Regions from separate parts of the Homo sapiens genome. Here regions 2 and 3 are each linked to region 1. Evidence: promoter capture Hi-C in human tissues and cell types (Jung and others, 2019). All regions are on one chromosome and are shown on one strand. Each heading gives the region's core, a stretch centred on a gene start or on the middle of the fragment in contact. The rest is flanking DNA. Distances are from core to core; before and after follow the strand shown.

Evidence for each region. Contacts are between HindIII fragments. The study calls those that stand out against the background at their distance.
Region 2: a contact is called between a fragment that was not itself captured here and the fragment with the promoter of HSD17B14 in region 1, in 1 of the 25 tissues and cell types used here (psoas muscle).
Region 3: a contact is called between a fragment that was not itself captured here and the fragment with the promoter of HSD17B14 in region 1, in 5 of the 25 tissues and cell types used here (bladder, dorsolateral prefrontal cortex, liver and 2 more).

The regions. Positions count from the first base shown.
Region 1 is chr19:48,834,851-48,838,396 of GRCh38, forward strand. HSD17B14 (hydroxysteroid 17-beta dehydrogenase 14) reads right to left here and starts at 1,641. Exons shown (of 9, transcript NM_016246.3): 1 at 1,474-1,641; 2 at 955-993. The coding sequence starts at 1,561. PLEKHA4 (pleckstrin homology domain containing A4) reads right to left here. Exons shown (of 20, transcript NM_020904.3): 19 at 3,167-3,279; 20 at 2,247-2,701. The coding sequence ends at 2,439. RefSeq lists a silencer at 2,549-2,618. The HindIII fragment of the contact is 14,395 bases long and covers 1-3,546 here.
Region 2 is chr19:49,006,348-49,009,893 of GRCh38, forward strand. It overlaps RUVBL2 (RuvB like AAA ATPase 2), which reads left to right. Exons shown (of 15, transcript NM_006666.3): 5 at 671-800; 6 at 955-1,021; 7 at 3,429-3,535. Among named protein-coding and RNA genes, the nearest start is that of MIR6798, 1.8 kb to the right of the region's middle. RefSeq lists an enhancer at 3,093-3,546. The HindIII fragment of the contact is 7,286 bases long and covers 1-3,546 here.
Region 3 is chr19:48,987,120-48,990,665 of GRCh38, forward strand. It overlaps GYS1 (glycogen synthase 1), which reads right to left. Exons shown (of 16, transcript NM_002103.5): 3 at 75-266. Among named protein-coding and RNA genes, the nearest start is that of GYS1, 4.4 kb to the right of the region's middle. RefSeq lists a silencer at 1,333-1,515 and an enhancer at 2,646-3,037. The HindIII fragment of the contact is 7,422 bases long and covers 1-3,546 here.

The DNA of each region.
Region 1 (3,546 bases), core at 391-2,890:
AGGGGCTGAGGTCTGGACTCCTGGGTCCGAGGAAGTAGGGCCTGGGGGCCTGGACTCCTGGGTCTGAGGGAGGAAGGGCTGGGAGCCTGGACTCCTGGGTCTGAGGGAGGAGGGGCTGGGGGCCTGGACTCCTGGGTCTGAGGGAGGAGGGGCTGAGGTCTGGACTCCTGGGTCCGAGGAAGTAGGGCCTGGGGGCCTGGACTCCTGGGTCTGAGGGAGGAGGTGCTGGGAGCCTGGACTCCTGGGTCTGAGGGAGGAGGGGCTGGGGGCCTGGACTCCTGGGTCTGAGGGAGGAGGGGCTGAGGTCTGGACTCCTGGGTCCGAGGAAGTAGGGCCTGGGGGCCTGGACTCCTGGGTCTGAGGGAGGAGGTGCTGGGAGCCTGGACTCCTGGGTCTGAGGGAGGAGGGGCTGGGGGCCTGGACTCCTGGGTCTGAGGGAGGAGGGGATGGGGGCCTGGACTCCTGGGTCTGAGGGAGGAGGGGCTGGGAGCCTGGACTCCTGGGTCTGAGGGAGGAGGGGCTGAGGTCTGGACTCCTGGGTCTGAGAAAGTAGGGCCTGGGGGCCTGGACTCCTGGGTCTGAGGGAGGAGGTGCCAGAGCCTGGACTCCTGGGTCTGAGGGAAGAGGGGCTGGGAGCCTGGACCCCTGGGTCTGAAGGAGGAGGGGTTGGGGACTTGGATTCCTGGGTCTGAGGGAGGAGGTGCCGGAGCCTGGACTTCTGGGTCTGAGGGAGGAGGGGCTGGGGACCTGGACTCCTGGGTCTGAGGGCAGAGGGGCTGGGGGCCTGGACTCCTAGGTCTGAGGGAGGAGGGGCTGAGGTCTGGACTCCTGGGTCTGAGGAAGTAGGGCCTGGGGGCCTGGACTCCGGGGTCTGAGGGAGGAGGTGCTAGGGGTCTGGACCTCTGGGTCTGAGGGAGGAAGGGCCAAGGTGAGGGCTGAGGGACCGTCACTCACCATCCTTGTCGCAGATAACCACTCGGGCCCCGCTGTTCACTGAGAATAGGAAGGGAACAGGTTACTCTCCGAGCCTTGGTTAAAGCCTCTGCCGCCCTCTTGTGGCCACCTGGATTGGGGCTGATCTCCCTCTCCCCTCGTGACCCCAGTCTCATGATCACCCATAGGACAGAGGGCAGACGCCTTGACACATACTCTCCTTGCCTTGTTTCTGCTGAGGCTCCTGAACCCCCGTTCGTGGCTTCCGGAGCAAACTCCACGACTGACAGAGCCATTCCTCAAACCACTGGTTTTGTAGCTACACCAACAGACCCAGAGAAAGGGGCCACTGCCTTCGGAGACCCTGCCAGACTCAGCCCTAGCCTACAGCGCCACACGCTTACTTTAGCCTGCAAATTGGCTTTTATAATATCAGAATCCTGGCTGCAGTACTGGAGTCCCTATTTTCCGCCCCCATCACCCCGCCCCCATCCTTCCTTTCTCACACTCCACAGCTCCCAGCAGTCAGACCCGGCTCACCGAAGGCGCGCACGATCCCAGCTCCGATGCCGCGCCCGCCCCCGGTCACGACCACCACCTTCCCGGCATAGCGCGTTCCCGTAGCCATCCCGTGTACGTCGGTCTCTCTCTCTCTCTACTCTGGGCCTCTTTCACCTCCAAAGCCCCGTGAGGCCGTCGCATCAAATCCTCAATAGAGGCTGGATCCTGGAAGTCCGGCCTCGGGGGGCGTTGCCAGGAAGGCTAGAGACCTGGAAGTTTGTCCCCAGCCCCTCCTCCCTCAGACACTCCTCTCTTCCCACAGACCCAGGAATCCAGGAGCCCCAGTCCCTCCTCCCACAGACCCAGGAATCCAGAAGCCTCAGTCCCTCCTCCCTCAGACTCGGGAGTCCAGGCCCCCAGCCCCTCCTCCCTCAGACTCGGGAGTCCAGCCTCCCAGCCCCTCCTCCCTCAGACCCGGGAGTCCAGCCTCCCAGCCCCTCCTCCCTCAGACCCAGGAGTCAGGGTCCCAGCCCCTCCTCCCTCAGACCCGGGAGTCCAGCCTCCCAGTCCCTCCTCCCTCAGACCCAGGAGTCAGGGTCCCACCCCTTCCTCCCTCAGACCCGGGAATCCTGGCCCAGCCCCCTCCACTCTCAGACCGAGGGATCAGGTTCTCTATCCCTTCTTCCCAGAGACCTATAAGTCCAAGCCCCCTGTCCCTTCCTCTCTCAGGACCCAGGAGTCCACGACTCCAGCTCTGCCCCTCAGAGACACCAGTGCCACAACCCCAGACAGACAGAAAGAAAGCTATTGACTAAAAGTTCAAAGTTTTAATCCAAATTTAGACAGTGTTGAGAAAACCAAACTTTGGCCATAGAAACCATTCCCCTCCCGGGCCCGCAATGGGGACCAGACCACGCCCCCTGATGCCCTGAGTGGTCCCAGATCTCCGGCGGTACCTCCAGACCACGTCCTCGCGCTCCGATTGGCTGCCGCTTTTGGGCGGATTAGAAGCTGGATTGTAGCAGAGTGACTCGCAGAGGCCATGCCCCCTCGTCTTGTGGCAGGACCGGAGGGGCGATCCCGGCATCCCACGCGGGCCCCCAGGGGGTGGGACCTCCTCCACGCCCACTCCCTCGGCGAGAGAACCCCGTGGAACCCGAATTAGCCACCGGGGGAGATCTGGGGGGAGGGGTCTCCTGGCGCGTGGGGTCCGAAGGAGGCAGCGGCACACCGGGAAGAGGGTCTCCCTGGGAGTCCAAATTTCCACCTGGAGAGGATGAGTGGGACATGAGAATGGCAAACCTCAGCGCTAGGACCCCGGATTCCCAGCCCCTCCTCCCTCAGACCCAGGACTCCGGATTCCCAGCCCCTCCTCCATCAGACCCAGGAGTCCAGGCCCCCAGCCCCTCCTCCCTCAGACCCAGGAGTCCAGGCCCCCAGCCCCTCCTCCCTCAGATCCAGGAGTCTGGATACGCCAGTCCAGTCCTCTTTGAGACTCAGTTGTCGGCCCTCTCCCCGCCCCCTGACCTCTTCCTCCCCTCCTCCCAAGTGTCCCGGACCCCAGTCACCTCTTGCCTGAGACCTAAAACTCCCAAACCCTGCCCAACTCTTTACTCACCAAGATAAAAAATTCTCACCGGCCCCCAGACCCCTCCTCTCCAGGACCTGGGATTCCAGGTCTCCAGCTCTCTCCTCCCTAAAACCCAGAAGTCCAACATCCCCAGCCAGTCACCTGTCATCATTCTGTGCCACTGCGACGCCTCAGTAGCCAGGGCTTGGGAGAGGCTGAGAACCCGCTCCCGGTGACCTTCGGAAGTCGGCAAGTAAGGGGTGGTGTTCCTTGGACTAGAAAAAAAAAGAAGATTGGGGGTGGGGGTGTGTACATGGGGGAGAGGTGGGGGATGGTTAATTGGTACAAAAAGAAAAGGATGAATAAGACCTACTATTAGATAGCACAACAGAATGACTATAGTCAATAATAATTTAATTGTACATTTTTAAATAAATTAAAGGGTGTAACTAGATTGTTTATACATCAAAGGGTAAATCCTTGAAAGGGGATGGATACCCTATTCCCGATGATGTGCTTATTTCACATTGCCTGCCTGTATC
Region 2 (3,546 bases), core at 709-3,208, 170 kb after region 1:
TTCCTGCCAGCCACCCCAGGCCACCGGCGGTAGAGCGTCCTGCCCTGTGCCAGTTTCAGGCTGCGCAACCGTGTTACTGCTGAGCACCAGTGCCTGCCTGCCTGCCTGCCCATAGTCACTCCTAAGCAGGGTGTCATCCCATGCTGGCACGTGTTCTGTTATCATCCCCATTAGACAGAGGGGGAGACTGAGGCTCAGGGAGCAGTTCAGATCGCTCAAGATCCCACGGCGCCACCTGCACTTAAGTGGTGGATCTGGGATGGGAGCCGAGGCAGTCTGCCTTCATCACTTGTAGCTATCGTGTGGGCTCCTTGGCCTTCGTCCCTGGTCCCCTTCGTCCAGCTCTGAGGCTAAACAGCTCGTAGAGGCTGGGAGACTGAGGTGTGGCGAGGTTCTAGGGTGTACCCTCTGGGCAATGTGGGATTCTAAGCCAGGCCTGCCGGAGCAACCTGCCCTGCCTGGCTTCTCACTCACTGTCTGCCTCATGGCTGAACCCCGCTCTCCAGTTCCCCCTCCCCAGCGCTCTGCTCAGCTCGGAGCCAAGTCCTTACATGTAGGATGGCACTGAACCCTCTTTCCTGGGGTGGGAGAAAAGCTAGTTTGCCACAGAGCAGGTGTCGGGGACCTGGTGCCAGAGCGGCTTCACCTACACAGACTGCCTCCTTCCCAGGCATGGCGCAGGCCCTGGGCCCTGACACGCCATTCACAGCCATCGCCGGCAGTGAAATCTTCTCCCTGGAGATGAGCAAGACCGAGGCGCTGACGCAGGCCTTCCGGCGGTCCATCGGCGTTCGCATCAAGTAAGCGGGGGACCCGAGGCGGGTGCCAGACCCCAGAGCCTGGGAGCAACCCCGCACCCCGGGCGGCTCGTCCTTTGTCCCAGAGCTCATGGAAGGTTGTGATTCCCGAGGGTCCAGGTGTCAGGCTGTCTCCTCAGATCTGCTCTCTGGCTAGGGAGGAGACGGAGATCATCGAAGGGGAGGTGGTGGAGATCCAGATTGATCGACCAGCAACAGGGACGGTGAGTCTGTGTGAGTCTGTACCCTGCTGAGGCCACCTCCAGCGCCAGGGTTGGAGAGAGTAGATATCAGGTCTGCACTGAGGTCAGAATCCCATGGAATGTTCTAGCTGCAGACTAGAGCCATGTACATGCCTACAGTAGGAGGTCAGTTAACTTGACAATGGCTTATCCCCTTATGAAGGACATTATGGGCAATAGAAACTGAGGCGGTAAAATAATGAGAGAGATCTGTTAGTGAGTTCCCAACAGACCTCAAAACCCAACAGACTTCAAAACTCGTTCCGTGGCCGAAAGGCATGTCCTGTCCATCTTACATGATACAGGTGATTTGCTCTCTCTTTTTTTTTTGTTTTCGAGACAGAGTCTCCCTCTGTCCCCCAGACTGGAATGCAGTGGTGCAATCTCGGCTCACTGCAACCTCTGCCTCCCAGGTTCAAGTGATTCTTCTGCCTCAGCCTTCCGAGTAGCTGAGATTACAGGTGTGTGCATGCCACCACGCCCGGCTAATTTTTGTACTTTCAGTAGAGACGGGGTTTCACCATGTTGGCCAGGCTGGTCTTGAACTCCTGACCTCGTGATCTGCCCACCTTGGCCTCCCAAAGTGCTGGGATTACAGCCGTGAGCCACCATACCTGGCCTCTTTTTTTTTTTTTTTTTTTTTTTTTACAATTTCTGTTTTCTCCTTTTTGCATAGCTGTGTTTTCTGATTTTGTGATCAACAAAAACACTTTTTATTTGGGTATAAAATAGGAATGTCAAAGTGTGACATTTGGCAATTTTGCGAGACCTCGGGCCTATGTTGTTTTTGATAGACTTTATTTTTTAGGCATGTTGTTTGTTTACTATTTTTATTTTTTATTTTTATTTTATTTTATTATAATTTTTTTTTTGAGATGGAGTCTTGCTCTGTTGCCCAGGCTGGAGTGCAGTGGCACAATCTCAGCTCACGGCAAGCTCTGCCTCCCGGGTTCATGCCATTCTCCTGCCTCAGCCTCCCGAGTAGCTGGGACTACAGGCACCTGCCACCACGCCCGGCTAATTTTTTGTATTTTTAGTAGAGACGGGGTTTCACTGTGGTCTCGATCTCCTGACCTTGTGATCTGCCCGCCTCGGCCTCCCAAAGTGCTGGGATTACAGGTGTGAGCCACTGCACCCTGCCTGTTTACTATTTTTATTAAGAGCTTTATTGAGTTTTGGCCAGGCGCAGTGGCTCACACCTGTAATCCCAGCACTTTGGGAGGCTGAGGTGGGCGATCACTTGAGATCAGGAGTTCGAAACGAGCCTGACTAACATGGTGAAACCCTGTCTATACTAAAAATACAAAATGGCTGGGCGCGGTGGTTCATGCCTATAATCCCAGCACTTTGGGAGGCCGAGGCGGGTGGATCACCTGAAGTCAGGAGTTCAAGACCAGCCTGACCAACATGGTGAAACCCTGTCTCTACTAAAAATACAAAAAATTAGCTGGGCGTGGTGGTGGGTGCTTGTAATCCCAGCTACTTGGGAGGCTAAGGCAGGAGAATCGCTTGAATCTGGGAGGCAGAAGTTGCAGTAAGCCGAGATCACACCATTGCACTCCAGCCTGGGCAACAAGAGCGAAACTCCATCTCAAAAATAAATAAATAATAAAAACACAAAACAATTAGCTGGGTATGGTGGCACACATCTGTAATCCCAGCTACTTGGGAGGCTGAGGCAGGAGAACTACTTGAACCCGGGAGATGGAGGTTGGAGTGAGCTGAGATCACACCACTGCACTCCAGCCTGGGCGACAGAGCAAGACTCTATCTCAAAAAAAAAAAAAAAAAAAAAAAAAAAAAAAAAAAAGAGCTTTATTCACCAGGCGCAGTAGCTCACTCCTGTAATCCCAGCACTTTGGGAGGCCGAGGTGGGCAGATCACAAGGTCAGGAGATCGAGACCATCCTGGCTATCACAGTGAAACCCCATCTCTACTAAAAATACAAAAATTAGCCATGCGTGGTGGCGGGCGCCTGTAGTCCCAGCTACTCGGGAGGCTGAGGCAGGAGAATGGCGTGAACCCGGGAGGCAGAGCTTGCAGTGAGCCGAGATCATGCTACTACACTCCAGCGTGGGCGACAGAGCAAGACTCCGTCTCAAAAAAAAAAAGAACTTTATTGAGTTTTAATTGACATACAGAAAGCTGTACACATTGCAAGTGTCCAGTATGGTCCGTTGGGACATACATGTTCAGCCGCGGAGCCATCACCGCGTCAGGCTGGTGAGCGCACCGTATGTCTTCCCTGGAGAGCTTCCTTGTGTTGTGCCCATTTTGAAGCTGTGGAAGCAGAGGCCAGAGCAGAGCCAGAAGCTTATCAACACTGGGGGCACTGGGGCAACATCAGGGCCCTCTCTGAGCCCCATCCCTGGCTTGTCCCCACTCTCAGGGCTCCAAGGTGGGCAAACTGACCCTCAAGACCACAGAGATGGAGACCATCTACGACCTGGGCACCAAGATGATTGAGTCCCTGACCAAGGACAAGGTCCAGGCCGGGTGAGCAGTCA
Region 3 (3,546 bases), core at 353-2,852, 150 kb after region 1:
GCCCATCCTCTGGCCCAGGGGCTGATGGTCATTGTAGTTTCAGGTATGGGTGGAATGTGTCAGACGGGGCCTACCTCACCCAGGAACCAGGTGGTCAGAAAGCCAAAGAGGACAGCGTCGTTGGCCTCGCGGTCGTACCACGGCACTCCGATGTTGCAGGTATCCCAGAGCTCTCCCTTCCAGCGCTCCAGGGCCCAAGCTGAGGCACCCACGTCCAGGAGCACCACCAGAGGGCCTCCCTCGATCAGCCAGCGCCCGAAATACACCTGGGATGGGGTTGGGGAGGCACCATAGGGAGGCTCTGGGCTTCAGCCTCATATCTTCACTCATCCGTGGTTCTCCCATTTGCAGGCAGATGTCTATAGACTTAAGCCTCAGCTCTCTTATCTTCTGTTTCCATATCTGCTGCTAATTTCTCACCTGCTGCCTTAGCCTTACTTCTCTATTTGCATGATTTATTCCTGCTACACATTTTTTCCATCTCTGTTGCAATATTTTCCGTGCCCCCTGCTTACTTTCTTTCTTTCTTTTTTTTGAGATGGAGTCTCACTCTGTGGCCCAGGCTGGAGTGCAGTGGTGCGATCTCAGCTCACTGCAACCTCTGTCTCCCGGGTTCAAGCAATTCTCCTGCCTCAGCCTCCCAAGTAGCTGGGATTACAGGCACCCGCTCCCACACCTGGCTAATTTTTTTTTTTTCTTGAGACGGAGTCTGGCTCTGTTGCCCAGGCTGGAGTGCCGTGGCATGATCTCGGCTCACTGCAACCTCTGCCTCCTGGGTTCACACCATTCTCCTGCCTCAGCCTCCCGAGTAGCTGGGACTACAGCGGCCCGCCACCACGCCCGGCTACTTTTTTTTGTATTTTCAGTAGAGACGAGGTTTCACTGTGTTAGCCAGGATGATCTCCATTTCCCGACCTTGTGATCCGCCCGCCTCGGCGTCCCAAAGTGCTGGGATTACAGGCGTGAGCCACCGCACCCAGCCTCCTGTTTAATTCCTGTAACTGCTACCCTTCTCCCACTCGCTGCCTCCTTTCTCTGCTTATAACCACATATGTCACATGTCCTGTGTCTATGCCCCCACTGCCCTGTCTGGCCACTCTGCAAATCATTTCCCCTACCTGCTGCCTTGTTTCTGTACTTGCTGCCACATTTCTCTTACCAACCATCTGCATCTCCCACTGTCTTTTCTTTCTGATGCTAATTCCTTCCACGGGATGCTTCTTTTTTGTTTTCAGACAGGGTCTCGCTCTGTTGCCCAGGCTGGAGTGCAGTGGTGTGAACATGGTTCACTATAGCCTCAACCTCCCTGGCTCAGTCAATCCTCCCACCTCACCTCCTACAGGCGTGGGCCACCATGCCAGGCTGATTTTTTAATTTTTTGTGGAGATGGGGTCTCACTATGTTGCCCAGGCTGATCGTGAACTCCTGCGTTCAAGCAGTTTTCTTGCTTAGCCTCCCAAAGTGTTGAGATTAGAAGTGTGAGCCACCTAAAGCAGGCCCTTTTTTATTTTCAGAGACGGGGTCTTGCTCTGTCCTCCAGCCTGGAAGGGAGTGGTGCAATTACGGTTCACTGAAGCTTCGATCTCCCAGGCTCAAGCAATCCTTCCACCGCAGCTTCCCACGTAGCTGGGACCACAGGCACAAGGTATCACATCCCGGCTAATTTTTAACTTTTTTGTAAGGACAGGGTTTCACCATGTTGCCCAGGCTGGTCTCAAACTCCTGGCCTCAGCCTACCAAAGTGCTGGGATTACAGGCGTGAGCTACTGCACCCAGCCTGTAATGATTCTCTTACTGTTCATGCTGCCACTTTTCTTCCCCATGATGCCTTGTTTCTGTTCCTTTCATCACATATCTGTCACCTGCGACCTCTTTCCTCTATCCATAGGCCCATTTTGTAGTCCACAGCCTCCTTCCTTCCTTCCTTGCTTCCTTCCTTCCTTCCTTCCCTCTCTCCCTCCTTCCCTCCCTCTCTCCTTTTTCTTTCTTTCTTCCATTTTTTTTTGTTTGTTTTTGTTTTTGACAGGGTCTCACTCCGGTCACCCAGGCTGGAGTGCAGTGGTGCAATCATGGCTCACTGGGCTGGGCGCGGTGGCTCACGCCTGTAATCCTAGCTCTTTGGGGGGCCGAGGCGGGCGGATTGCCTGAGCTCAGGAGTTTGAGACCAGCCTGGGCAACATGGTGAAACCCTGTCTCTACTAAAATACAAAAAATTAGCCGGGCGTGGCAGCATGTGCCTGAGGTCCCAGCTACTTGGGAGGCCGAGGCAGGAGAATTGCTTGAACGCGGGAGGCGGAGGTTGCAGTGAGTCGAGATTGTACCACTGCACTCCAGACTCAGCGACAGAGTGAGATTCTATCTGAAAAAAAAAAAAAAAAAATTATGGCTCACTACAGCCTCCACATCCCATCCTCCCACCTCAGCCTCCTGAGTAACTGGGATCACGAGCACGCACCATCATGCCTGGCTAATTTTTTGTATTTTTAGTAGAGACAGAGTTTCGCCATGTTGCCCAGGTGGGTCAGGAACTCCTGGGCTCAAGCTATCCTCTCACCTCGGCCTCCCAAAGTGCTGGGATTCCAGGCATGAGCCACCGCCCTCGGCCACGCCACACATTTCTAACATAGCCCATCCTCTGTCCGTGCCCCAGGGCTGCATTTTTCTAGCCACTGCCGTGTTTCTAAGACTTGCTGTCTCACTTCTGCCTCTGCCACATTTCTCCAGTTGGCTGTTTTCCTCCCTGAGACCATGGCTTTGGTTCTGGGCCTGCTGCCACAGCAGTGGAGAAGCAGCCCCGCTCCTCGCCGACCTGGCTTTTTGCTGCCTGGAGCCTCGCTCTGAGGTCCCTCCCCCTCCCAGCTGTTGTCTGCCCTTTTGCTGGGGGGGGGGGGGGGCTATTCTTAGGCCCCCAGCACGTGGGAAGCAGCTGCCCTCAGGAAGCGACTGGGCTGTTCTGGGTTCCCTTAGGGACACAGTCGGACCTGAATGGATTCCAGACCCCACCCCAAACCAGAGGCTGTGAATGAGTAAAGGAACCACAGTGCCTCTCCATCCCCAGCCTGGACCTGTCTGTCCCTTAGCCCTGCCGCCTGATGGCTTTCTCCTTGGACAACAGCGTGCCGCCTGATGGCTTTCTCCTTGGACAACAGCGTGTCTCTTTCCGTCTTCACCCTGGGGCCCTGGAACTCCCCCTCCTCTCTAATCCCTGATCTGCCCATCTCAGACTCTGTCCTGTGGGTCTGTCCACTGACCTCTCCTCTCTTCCCCGATATTCCATGCTTCTCTCTCCTTCTAGGACTGGCTTTCTGAAACATCTGGTGGCCTCTCTTCTGTCCCCAGTCTATTACTCTTGCCTGTGGCTCCATCCACCCTTCTCCCTTGGTCTGCCTGTCCCCCTCACTCTCCAAGCTTGGCTGTTAGTAACAATAATGACGATGATCATAACAATGACAATCACCGCCCACACAATGTGCTACCTTCATGCCAAGAACTCTACTAACCACTTTGTCCTTATTAACTGTTTCCTCCTCCCAGCACCGCTAGAAG